Regions from separate parts of the Homo sapiens genome. Here regions 1 and 3 are each linked to region 2. Evidence: promoter capture Hi-C in 16 types of primary human blood cells and fetal thymus (Javierre and others, 2016). All regions are on one chromosome and are shown on one strand. Each heading gives the region's core, a stretch centred on a gene start or on the middle of the fragment in contact. The rest is flanking DNA. Distances are from core to core; before and after follow the strand shown.

Region 1 (4,213 bases), core at 1,295-3,794, 180 kb before region 2:
TCTTTCTCACCTTTTCCTCCTCCTTCTTTGTGTATACACTTAACCTGCTTCATGAGGAGATATGCTACTTTAAATTTTGTTATAATTTTTATATACCTCTATGAATGTTTTTAGATTATGGTCATCAGATTCCAAAATTAATTTATGTTTTGTCTTCACTGGAGTACTGCATATTCCCATGTAGATAGTCACCATGCTTGCAGCATTATTTAGGATTCTTTGATTGTAACTGCTGTACACTCAACTCACAGCATTAAGCAAAAAAGGCAACATCTTGCCTCACATAACTGAAGAGCTGAAGAGGAAAAGCTCCAGTTCAGGCAGGGGTGGATGCAGGAGTTCACAGCGTGTCACTAGGAAGTTGTCTCTCTGTGTGGCTTGGCTGCACCGTCCTCTGCCTGGGCTGCATTTGTAGGCCAACGCTGTCTATGTGTTGGCCCCTGACCCACTTACTTCATCACAGCTCCAAGTCCAGAAACAAGAAAGGTCTCTCTTTCCTGATAGGTCCAATGAACCCCTGAGTTCAGTCTCACTCCCTGGGGTGGTTACAGCTAGGCCACGGAACACTGTGATCAGTCAGGGCTGTGAACTGCCACTCCTGGGGTCGGAGGAGGGGCTACCCTTATGAACACCACATAGCTTGGTTGAAAGGGCATGGTTCCCCCACCACACACAAAAAAACAAGGTGTTACAATCAGAAAAAATGGGAATAGATATGGGACAGGCAAAGATGACTCTTCACAGCATCTGCCATGCAGCGGCTCAGAGTGCTTTGTCACTACCCCAATCACAGGCACTTTGGTTGCTTCCAGAGAGGAACCAGACGCCCTGGGTTCAAACCACATCTGCCCCTCTACAGCTATGACCCTTGGGCAGATGTCTTTTTTTTTTTTTTTTTTTGAGATGGAGTCTCGCTCTGTGGCCAGGCTGGAGTGCAATGGCACGATCTCACCTCACTGCAACCTCCACCTCCCGGGTTCAAGTGATTCTCCTGCCTCAGCCTCCCAAGTAGCTGGGACTATAGGCATATGCCACCACACCCGGCCAATTTTTGTATTTTTTAGTAGAGACGGGGTTTCACCATGTTGGCCAGGCTGGTCGTGAACTCCTGACCTCAGGTGATCCTCCCACCTCGGCCTCCTTTTAAAGTGCTAGGATTACAGGATGGAATAACACTTTCCTTTAAGGGCCAACGAAATCACTTGAGCATGCATCCATCAGAGGGAGGGCGGCTTAGGAGAGGTTCCCACACGGTGCCCACTGCTGAACTGTTCATTAGCTAGCTTTTTCCTGCATCCCCATCTTATCGCCATTTTCTGGGGCTCGGTTTTTCCGTCTTGAGAAAGAAATAGGCCTGTGCTTATTTCCCTCTCCCCTGGGACAAGGCACCAGCCACTCTCCTGAGCTGCTGGGAACTTCTCCAAAATTCCTGGTGCTTCCTCACATTGAGCAACATGAGTCTCTTTCCTCTTTTTACCAGGCTCCACCCACGAGAGGCTCTGAGACAAACTACACAACCAAAGAAGTCTTTCTGCATCCACAAAGCCCTGTTTGCCTAAGAAAAAGGTCGCGGGGCCCAATCACACACACCTGGCTGCAGTCATTTCCAATTTTCTTTTTTTTTTTTTAATGGCAATTCCTGCTGCCCTGCTGATACTGAATTTATTTTTTATTTTAAGTTTTTCAGCAATAAGATCTTAAAAACCGGCCGGGCGCGGTGGCTCATGCCTGTAATCCCAGCACTTTGGGAAGCCAAGGCAGGCAGATCACCTGAGGTCGGGTGAGTTCAGCCTGACCAACATGGAGAAACCCTGTCTCTACTAAAAATACAAAATTAGCCGGGCATGGTGGCGCATGCCTGTAATTCCAGCTACTCGGGAGGCTGAGGCAGGAGAATCGCTTGAACCAGGGAGGTGGAAGTCGAGGTGAGCCGAGATCGCGCCATTGCACTCCAGCCTGGGCAACAAGAGTGAAACTCCGTCTCAAAAAAAAATTCTTAAAAACCGGCAGAAAATGTATCAGGGTGCCCGGTACTAACAGGAGATGAGACATAGGCAAGAGCCCAGCCCTCGAATTGCTAACAGTTTTGCTTGGGAACCGGAATTAATGTCTTCAGCATACTCAGGCCAAGGTGACAGCACCGGCTCTCAGAGAGGTTGGATTTCAGCAACTTCCCATCCTCTCAACCCACACAGGAACAGGCCCCTCGGCAGTTCGAGAACGCACCTTCCCATACTTCAGAGTTGCCGGAGGGAGGGTGGAGGACCTCCTGCCTCACAGTGATCTGAGGTCCAGAAACCCTAGGGACCCCAGCTTGAGGCTCTGAAGGGCTGTGACACAGCCTCTTTGCCTGCCAGCCCCGCCCCGGATGCAGCCTGCTGAGCGAGGGTGGAGGAGGGGAGCTATGTGGCCAAAACCCTGAGTCACTGAGGAGCACGAGGGAGCCGCCCTTTCCGGCGTGTCTCCCGAGGCTGTCTGCCCTTCCCCAGCCTCTGCAGCCTACAATCCCAATCAAGAGCCAGCCCGGTTTCTGCAAGCACACAGGAGCAGAAGAGAAACCAGTGAAGACTTCACCGCTGCATATCAGGCCAGCGACGGCTGCTCGGTGACGGCGCTGCTCTGCCACCAAGAAAAACCCCAAACCCACTGATCCCACAAAGAGGGGAGAAAAAGGAAGGCTTCATGCTGAAGAAGGAGAAATACAAACGTGTATGTGCCGGTTTGCCTCTGGTCGTTACCGTGGAGGCATTCACACGCCTGTCCATTTGGCATTATTATGAGCGATCCCCAGACAGAAGAACTTAAGGTCAAGTTTTACAGAGATAACCAAGGACATCTTAAAGGAGACAGGCTGTGCGATCATTGGAAGAGGGAAGCTGTGGATCTTGCATTCATGCATTTGGATGAAGATGACACTGGAAACTGCACGTTGCAGGTTGAGGTGGCCAAGTATCAACGGAATGGGAAATATGAGGCTTCAGGAAGGAAGTGCGCGAACCACAGGAAGGCTCCGTCTCTACGGCAGAAGCGGCCACGCCGCAGCCCATCCAAACGCCGCGACACGAGTGAGTTGTCCTCATCGAACACATTTCATCCTGTGGATTTTGAGGATGGCCAGAGAAGACCTTCAAGGAGAGTCAAGTTTGGACCAACTCGGAGGCTCATTGTCTTTGACAGACACCCAGCTGGTGAACCTGTGTCCTGGAGGAATGCAGGAGCAGCTGCTCATTGTATTCAAACCTTTGATGGAAGGTGGTTTGAATGATAATGGTTGAACAGACTCCAAGGCTGAGAGGACGGGCGGGCGGCTTCCTTCAGTGTCCCTGAGGCCAACACACTCAGTGCTCCGATTCCACAGAGGGGGACTTTGGGTGGTGCTGGGGGCGTTGAGGAAGAAGGGCCCCTGGGCACAGCCAGCAGTGCTGTCCTCAGTAGTGATGACAAGGAGGAGGAGGAAAAGGGAAAAGAGGAGGATATGATGACAAAGATGATATTTAATCCCTCAAACTTGCTTTTAGGGAAGTTCCTCCATCTGCATGTGGCTGTGTGTCAGGGTGATTATTAGTAGGGTTACGTGAACACGGCACAGTGGTACAATGCCATCAGACTAAATTTTTTAAAAGTTTTAAATTTTCATTGTAACTGGCAATTAATGATTTTTAAATTATTTTTATTTATTTATTTGTTTTTTGAGACAGGTCTCATTCCGTCACCCAAGGCTGGAGTGCAGTGGTGTGATCTCAGCTCACTGCAACCTCTGCCTCCCAGCTCGAGCGATTCTCTCACCTCAGCCTCCCAAGTACCTGGGACTGCAGATGTGTGCCACCACACCTGGCTAATTTTTTTTTTTTTTTATAGGGTTGGGGTTTCGCCATGTTGCCCAGGCTGGCCTCAAACTGCTGAACTCAAGCAATCTGCCCATCTTAGCCTCCAAAAATGCTGGGATTCCAGGTGAGAGCCATCACGCCTGGCTATTTTTAAAAAGAGTCTTGCTCTGTCATCCAGGCTGGAGTGCAGTGACACAGTCATGGCTCATTGCAGCCTTGAACTCCTGGACTCACGTGACCCTCTTGCTTCAGCCTCCTGAGTAGCTGGAATTACAGGTGCGTGCCACCATGCCTAACTAATGTATATTTTTAAATTTTTTGTAGAGATGGGTCTCATTATGTTGCCCAAGCTGGTCTTGAACTCCTGGCCTCAAGCAGTTATCCCA
Region 2 (4,253 bases), core at 1,096-3,595:
CTAATACCTAAATATGTGGAAACAGCTTTGAAACTGAGTAATGGGTAGAGGCTGGAAGAATTTGGAGATGCATGCTGGAAAAAGCCTGTATAGACATAAACAGAGCTTTAAGGGAAATTAAGGGTGAGGGCTCAGAAGACAAGGAGAGCTGTAGGGAGAGCCTAAATCATCTTAGAGATTAATTAAGTGGTCTGGTCTTGATCAGAATGCGGTTAGAAGTATAGATGGTAAAGACACTTTTGATGAGATCTTAAAAGGAAACTGGAGGAAAGGTCATCCTTGTTACACAGTGGCAATGAACTTGGCTGAATTGTGTCTATGTCCTAGTGTTTTCTGAATGGCAGAACTTAAAGGCAATAAACTAGGATATTTGATGGAAGAAATCTCTGAGCAAAGCGTTGAGAGTGCAGCATGGCTTCTCTTGACTGCTTGTAGTAAAATGTGAGCAGAGAGAATGAATTAAAAACGAAGTTTATAATCAAGAGGGAAGCAGAGCTTAAAGTTTTGGAAAATTCTCAGCCTGGCCATGTAAAGAATGAAAAGGCATGTTTGGGAGGGAACACCAAGAGTGCTGCCAGGTTCACATTTGATAATGAGATGAGTATGTGTAGAAGGAAGCCAGATGCTATTTATCAAGACAATGGAAGAATGAACCCAAAGGCATTTCTGAGGTTACTGGTTCTGGATTCTCATCCCTGTCCCAGAGTGCCAGGACCCTGAGGGCAGAATAGTTTTAAGGGAGGACTCAGGACACCATGGAACCTTGGGGCTTGCTGCCTAGGGCTGCCTCAAGTCTCTGCCCCCCCACCCCCCACATTCTGGTGCAGCACTCTTTGGCCACCATCCCACGTGTGGCTTATGCAGGCCCTTGTCAGGCCACCCTTCCTGTAAGCCTTGGCAGAGTCCACGTGATGCTAACTCTGCAGGTGCACAGAGTGCATGAACTGTGGAGACACAGCCACCTCCACCTAGATTTTGAAGGATGTGTTGGGGACCCTGGGGGCCCAGTCTGAGAATTGTCACTGAGGTGAGGCTGCTGCAGAAAACCCTCACTAGGGCAATGTTTAGTGGAGCAGTGGGATTGGGGCCACTGCAGAGAGCCCCAAATAGAGTAATATCTAGTGGAGCTGTGGGAACAGGGCTGTCCCTGAGAACCCAGAACTGTCCAGCCACCAGCATGCAAGTCTATCCTGGGAGAGCCTAGACCTCAACCTGTGAGAGCTGCTGCATGGGTTGCACCTGGCAAATCCATGGGAGTGGATCCCCTGGACACTAGGGGACCCAGTCTCCACCCCCCTGTGCTCGGAATGGGGGACACAGCATCAAAGAAGATTATTCTGAAGCCCCAAGATTTAATGCTGTTTGCCTTGTTGGGTTTGGACTTACTTGGGACCAGATACTCCTTTCTTCTTGCCTGCTTCTCCCTTTGGGAATGGGAATGTACGTCCTATGCCTGTCTCATCACTGTATTTTGAAGGCCTGTAACCTATTTGATTTCACGGGCTCATAGCTGGAGGGGAATTTCACTTAGGATGAATTGTACTTTGAATCTTATGCCTTTCTAATTTAGAAGATATTTAGGTGAGACTTTGGACTTACATTTTAAAGTTGATACTGGAACTTTGGAGGCCACTGGGATACAATGCATGCATTTTGCATGTGAGAGGGGTATGAATTTGGAGGGCAGGGGCAGAATGCTATGCTTTGAATGTCTGTGTTCCCTGCAAAATTCATGCTGAAACAATCCTCAATGCAATACTAACAGGTGGTGCCTTTAGGAGGTGACTGGATTATGAGGGCACCTTCCTCATGAATGGGATTGGCCCCTTATACGAGAGACTTCACATGAGATTTGGCCCCTTTTGCCCTTCCACTTTCCACCATTGAGGACGCAGCAGCAAGCTGTCATCTTGGAAACAGAGAGCAGGTGTTTGGAACTGGTTCTGTTTCATCTGATTCTGGGGGCCCCTCTTTTTCCCTGTGCAAGATCCCCAAATTTGCTTCCTTCTCTCAAAGAAAGCTCCCAATATAGATGGGACTCAAAGGGAGTCATTTGCCCTCTAAGAGGTGTCACAATATGTCGTCTCAGTCATTCACACCTTAGTAAGAAAAAGCTTTTCAGGTCCTTGCCAGAGATTCGGGGAAAGGCTTTGAACTGAGAAAGAAGCCGCGCCCCTGAGGAGGGCGCTGCCCGGAAGCCACGCTCACTTCTGCTTGCACTTAGGCGACCTCGGGAGCTCGGACTCCTACGCAGTCACCGGGAAGGGCCGCCGCCCCGCCCGCGGCTGCTGGCCCGGGTGACGCTTCCGCCTGCTATAAGAGCAGCGGCCCTCGGTGCCTCCTTCCTGACCTCGCACCCAGCTCGGAGCCCGGAGCGTGCCTCGGCGGCCTGTCGGGTAAGGCCGGGCCTCGGAGCGGTGGCGCGGGGGCGGGCGCGGGGAGAGGCCAGGCTCCCTCGCTCAGCTTCCAGCCCGGCACCCCCCACCCCCCAGGCTCAGGCCCCTCAGACCCGCAGCTCCCTGCGCTCGCCCTCCCCGCCAGCTTCGCGCCCCCATCCCTTCCGGGCGCCCCGACGGAGACAGACGACCTCTGATCCCCCGCCCCCGCCTGGGTACAGGCCGGGCCAGCCCGCGAGGGAGGGAGGGAGGGAGGACGACAGATGCAGGCGGAAGGCAAGACTGAAACCTGAGATCAGAATGTTGTCCCTTCTCCCTGAATTCCCTTCCTCCCAGAGCTGTTTGTGACGGTTTCCAGGCAGCCCAGGGCCAGGCCGCGGCTCCTATCTGCAGCTGCAGGGAGAGAGAGGAGGAACCCCGTGCGATTCTAGAGACGATTTCACAACAAGGAGAAATCAGCTTTGTGCTTACATGCCGAGCAGCCAGCACGGTTCTTCTTTGCCTGTCCTCGGGGGAAATCAGGGCTCTGAGAGTGGAGATCGAGATGGGCTAGTGGGTGGCGGATGGGACGCTGCACGGCCAGACCCTGGACTGTGGTGGGTTTCCAAACTGGCACATCCTACACCGGCTCTGAGACTGTGGGCACTGGACCTCATACCTTTTGAACCTCAAAAATAAGGAAGAATTATATTATTATAATAATTACAGTGATACCTTTGCTGGAGTTTTAATGCATAGTAGGTAGCTGAGTCTCTGATAGAAGGCTCTTAGTTCAGGTGAAGGTAGGCAATGGATTCATTGCCCAATGAATCAGAGACTTGAATCAAAGGCTCAGAAGCACGTGCGCTCCCACACATAGGTTGGGAAGACCCAGGGCTGGGTGGGCCCTCCCACCCCACTAAAGCTGGGGTAGCTGGGGCCTGCCTTACCCCCGCCCCACCCCCAGACTCACCTGTCTGCAAGGTCAGAGCCCTTTAGGGCACCCTGGGTGCCCTAAAATCCCCTATAACTGCTGAGTCCTTGGCCAGAATGGTCCCACATTTGTGGGCCTGGGAAAGTGTTCTTGCCCTGCTGGAATAAAAAAGCGGGGAGAAAGTACAAGATCCAGGATGCCTCAGGGCGGTTGGCAGAAATTGAGGAAGCTTCTGGAGAAATAGTGCTGCCTAATCTGCTGGCGTGGGCAGTGGGCACCATGAGGACCCTGTTCTGTGTTGCAGTTTTCACCATGGAGCAGCTGAGCTCAGCAAACACCCGCTTCGCCTTGGACCTGTTCCTGGCGTTGAGTGAGAACAATCCGGCTGGAAACATCTTCATCTCTCCCTTCAGCATTTCATCTGCTATGGCCATGGTTTTTCTGGGGACCAGAGGTAACACGGCAGCACAGCTGTCCAAGGTCAGCAGAAACAAAAAAAAGGGTCTGCTTTCCTCCCATCTCCCTACGAATGGACAGTCTGCATGGAAAGGTTGTGCCTTTGAGCTCTTACCTTGTGTTTTCAGAACTGTATTTTTATGAGATCAGACTTTCAGAAAAGTCACACTTGTATGCAGGCTTCCATTCATCATCAGGTTTTTCCTAAGTACCTACCACGTACCAGGAACTGTTTTTCGTATTGCTGAGGAGACAGCAGTGAGCAAAGCTGACAAAAATCCCTGCAGGGCGAGGCTTCTGTTCCAGTGGATGAATCTGACAGCTTTCCTGAAAGGCATACTACATCCTCCTGAGCTAGCATCTTCCAGTTTTTGCTTTGCATATGATGATATGCAACTCATAAATATTGCCTGTTATATAACACTACTTTCAAGCATAATGAGAGGAATAAGACATAGGGAATGCATTATAGTGGAGATAGTGGCATT
Region 3 (4,564 bases), core at 1,522-4,021, 200 kb before region 2:
AGCCAGAGGCACAGGGCAGCACTCGATGCACTGGTGCACCTGCTGGGTGAATGCCTGGCTGTCCTCACAACAGCTGGCGCTGCACCAGAACATGAGACCCTGTGTCTTCCAGATGTTCTCCCTTTCCAGACTCTTCACCATGGAGTCCACCACCTCCTGCACCCGCAGCTGCTGCAGCTCCACCATGGTGACCCTGTGCTGCCCTGCTCTGCTTAATTTTTCTAGAAATCTAAACTATTATAAAAAAATTAATTCTTGTAAGGCACAGACTCACAGTGGCTCATGCCTGTAATCCCAGCATTTTGGGAGGCTGAGGTGGGTGGATAGCTTGAGCTCAGGAATTCAAATCCAGCTTGGGCAACATAGCAAAACCCCATCTCTACCAAAAATAAAAAAATTAGCCGGGCATGGTGGTGCACACCTGTGCTACCAGCTGTGGGAGGCCAAGGTGGGAGGATCACTGGAGCCCAGGAAGTCAAGCCTGCAGTGAGCCATGATTGTGCCACTTCAGTCCAGCCTGGGCAACAGAGATCCTGTCATGAATAATAATAATAGTAATAATAATAATAGAGTATTAATTTTAAAAAGGATTAAAAATCCATTGGCCATATGTATGTGGATCTATTCCTCTCACTCTACTCTCTCTACTGTTTATCTTGCATCTATTCCTTTGCCAATATCATACTGTGTTTGTTAATTAAAGTACCTTTAGAGTAAATTTGAAAATTGTGCAGGGTAAATCCAATCTATTCTTCTTTTTCAAAATTGTTCTAACTATTCTAGCTTCTTTGCTTTTCTGTATAAATTTTTTGAATCAACCTGTCTATGTCTCCCAAAAATTCCCTGGGATTTTGACTGCAAATGTATTAAGTGTATATATAAATTTGGGAAGATTGTCATCTTTTTAATATTGATTTTTCTAATTCATGAACATGGTGTCTTTCTCCATTTATTTAGACCTTCTTTGGTGTCTTTTATCAGCTATTTTTAGTTTTCAGCATAGAGAGCATGTACATGTTTTGTGAGATTATTTTATTTGAGGATCTACTGTGAATTTTATTGTTTTAATTTTGGGTTCCAATTTTACATTACTGGTATATAAAAAGACAATTTACCTTTACACATTGACCTTGTATCTTGCTATATCATCTTATTAGTTCTAGAAGGTTTTTTTCTTTTCTTTTCTTTTCTTTTTTTTTTTTTTTTTTTGAGACTGAGTTTTGCTCTTGTTGCGCAGGCTGGAGTGCAGTGGTGCAGTCTTGGCTCACTGCAACCTCCGCCTTCTGGGTTCAAGCTATTCTCTTGCCTCAGCCTCCTGAGTAGCTGGGGTTACTGGCGCCCTCCACCACGCCGGGCTAATTTTTGTATTTTTGGTAGAGATGGGGTTTCACCATGTTGGCCAGGCTGGTCTCGAACTCCTGACCTCAGGTGATCCACCCACCTAGGCCTCCCAAAATGCTGGGATTACAGGTGTGAGCCACCGTGCCTAGCCTTGTTTTGTTTTTTCTTTTGTATATTCCTTGAAATTTTCTACATATACAACCATATAATCTGCAAATAGGGATAGTTTTATTGCCTACTTTCCAATTTGTGTGCCTTTTTGTAAATTTTCCTTTTCATTGCACTGACTAGGTGAGAATGGACATCCTGGCCTATTCTTAATTTTATGAGAATAGCATAATGATAGCTGTAGATATTTAGTTGTCTATTGTCAAATTAAAAACATTTTTTTTCGGCCCAACATGGTGGTTCTCACCTGTAATCCCAGCACTTTGGGAGGTTGAGGCGGGTGGATCACCTGAGGTCAGGAGTTCAAGACCAGCCGGCCAAAATGGTGAAACCCCTTCTCTACAGAGCAAGACTCTGTCTCAAAAAAAAAAAAAAAAAAAAAGACTTTTTTTTCTATTCCAAGCTTGCTAAGAGGTTCCTTTTCCCCCATGAATGGACAACATTAAGTTTGGTCAAGTGCTTTTTCTGCATTAATTAATAGGATCATGTGGGTTTTTTTCTAGTCTATGGTGGATTACATTGGTTGATATCCAAATATTGAACCTTACTTGCATTCCCGGAATAAACATTATTATGTCTTGCTGTGCTATTCTTTGTATACATTGCTAGTATAATAAACATTATGTCATGCTGTACTACTCTTTTTTTTTTTGAAAGAGCCTCACTCTTGTTACTCTTGTTGCCCAGGCTGGAGTGGGGTGGTGCGATCTCAGCCCACTGCAACCTCTGCCTCCCGGGCTCAAGCGATTCTCCTGCCTCAGCCTTCTGAGTAGCTGGAATTACAGGCATGCGCCACCACGTCTGGCTAATTTTTGTATTTTTAATAGAGACGGGGTTTCGCCATGTTGGCCAGGCTAGTTTTGAACTCCTGGCCTTAAGTGATCCACCCTCCTCAGCCTCCCAAGGTGCCGAGATTACCAGCATGAGCCACTGTGTCTGGCCTATACTATTCTTTTCATACATTGCTCATATAATAAATACCATTATGCCATGCTGTACTATTCTGTTTATACATTGCTGATTTGCAAATGTTTTGTTGAGGATTTCTTTGTATTCAAAAACACATAATGATATAGGTACAGTGGTCTATAATTTTCTTTTTTGTATTTGTTTTTGTTATAATAGTAATAAAAGCCTCATAAAATGAGTTGGAAAGTGTCCCTTTTCTATTTTCTGGAAGAGATTGTATAGGATTGATGTTTTCTTCTCATTTAAATAGTTGGTAGAATTCATCAGTAAAATCATATGGGCCTGGAGATTTCTTTTTAGAAGGCTTTTAACTATACATTTGATTTCTTCAATAGTCATAGGATTATTTTATTATGTCTATTTCATCTTGGGCGTGTTTTAGCAGTTTGTAGTTTTCTAGGAATTGGTTCATCTCGTCTAAAGTGTATGTGCATAGAGATACTCACGGTATTTGTTGCGGGGAGCAACAACTATCTAGGACAGTGGTGTGGGGTGTATAAGAATTTACCAAGACAGGCCAGGCGCAGTGGTTCACGCCTGTAATCCCGGCACTTTGGGAGGCCGAGGCGGGCAGATAACCTGAGGTCGGGAGTTCAAGACCAGCCTGACCAACATGAAGAAACCCCATCTCTACTAAAAATACAAAATTAGCCAGGCGTGGTGACGCACGCCTATAATCTCAGCTACTCGGGAGGCTGAGGCAGGAGAATCACTTGAACGCAGGAGGCAGAGGTTGCAGTGAGCCGAGATTGCACCATTGCACTCCAGCCTGGGCAACAACAGCAAAACTCCATCTCACAAAAAAATAATAATAATTTACCAAGAGAGTTGTTGATAAAGAAAGGCAGATTTATTAGAGAAAGTAGGAAAATACATTGCCAGAGAGACAATGGACAAGTCAGCAGAAGCTGACTGCAAAGAAACAAAGACTTGTGGAGATTTTGTAGGGCAGTGCTTATGCTGAAGAGGGCTTTGTGTAGTACTGATAATACCAAGATTGCAGTGAGTTAACTTGCAGGTGTTCTGTGATAGCTAGGTGCAGGAAGACTGAATTATTTGCACAGGAGGGCTATGTATCCCAGACCATGAGAAAGGCAGACTTGTAGCTTATCTGCTTTCTCTTTTTGCTTTCCCTTGGTCCTGCAAGCTTGACTCCCTTTCCCTAGTTAGGGCTCCACATTTCCCCACTAACAGAGCAACAATAACAAATCTTTGGTATGTGGACAAAGATCTCATCTTCCAACTGCTTCCTGCTGACCAGGGGCACCGAACCGGCCCTACCTAATCCTGTTACTCTGTCAGGAAATTACAAAGGCCTAAATCCTTGGCTTGGGAGTTAATTGGGCAGAGTCATTGTGTAACCATGGGGTTGGGGGCAGCATTTGTAGCCTAAAATTTTGTCCTGCTGTATCCAAAGGAGAGTCATGGAGTTCTTTTAGTGGCTGATACCTTCACTGCAGTGACATTTTAGTTTGAAATGGTTGTGTTCACAAAATTTGAAATTGTTGTGTTAGAAGACACAAAACAAGATATTGCATTAATAATACGTAATGCGAATAAGCTAATATAAGCATTATTATAGGTGACAGAAGTGGGGCCTGAGAGATAAGATTTCTAAATGTTAATTCAATAAGAGAAAATCAAGGAAAAGTTTGTAGATGTACTAGTGAGGAGTTAGTTTACTTTTGACCTTTATTTCTACATATTCCATTCCAGTTGCTGAACTATTTATAGGCATGAAAGAATTACTACACATTTTGCTGGCATTAACTTTATTGTTTCCCCACCACAGAAAAAACCTGTGGAGGTAAACAGTGAACTTGTCTCCCATTCCTGGTGTGTTTGGTTATAATTGAGGGTGTAATTGCAATGGGCTCGAATTAAAGCCCCTAGGACAAGGCCAGACCCCTTGGAGTTTGTGATGTAGAGGTGTGCCTTACAAGCCTCTGCATATGATGAAGACAAACAAATTTTTAATGAGGCATTTTTATGGAAACAGAAAAAAAAAAAAACAAAGATTAACATTGGGCACAATTTATCCAGATGTTAAAGCATTTTTAGTTATAGAGGAGGAAGGCAGTGGCAA

Evidence for each region. Contacts are between HindIII fragments. The CHiCAGO score rates a contact against its expected background, and 5 or more counts as called.
Region 1: a contact is called between a fragment that was not itself captured here and the fragment with the promoter of SERPINB1 in region 2, in 12 of 17 cell types (activated CD4 T cells, total B cells, naive B cells and 9 more). The highest score is 8.3, in activated CD4 T cells.
Region 3: a contact is called between a fragment that was not itself captured here and the fragment with the promoter of SERPINB1 in region 2, in 5 of 17 cell types (activated CD4 T cells, naive CD4 T cells, total B cells and 2 more). The highest score is 6.7, in activated CD4 T cells.

The regions. Positions count from the first base shown.
Region 1 is chr6:3,022,187-3,026,399 of GRCh38, reverse strand. LOC101927759 (a long non-coding RNA gene) reads right to left here and starts at 2,337. Exons shown (of 3, transcript NR_152848.1): 1 at 2,227-2,337. It also overlaps the pseudogene HTATSF1P2. RefSeq lists enhancers at 411-520, 1,964-3,163 and a silencer at 631-925. The HindIII fragment of the contact is 6,369 bases long and covers 1-4,213 here.
Region 2 is chr6:2,839,955-2,844,207 of GRCh38, reverse strand. SERPINB1 (serpin family B member 1) reads left to right here and starts at 2,345. Exons shown (of 7, transcript NM_030666.4): 1 at 2,345-2,396; 2 at 3,614-3,789. The coding sequence starts at 3,622. RefSeq lists a silencer at 2,401-2,450. The HindIII fragment of the contact is 1,424 bases long and covers 2,117-3,540 here.
Region 3 is chr6:3,041,006-3,045,569 of GRCh38, reverse strand. It overlaps the pseudogene FAM136BP. Among named protein-coding and RNA genes, the nearest start is that of RIPK1, 25 kb to the left of the region's middle. The HindIII fragment of the contact is 1,713 bases long and covers 1,915-3,627 here.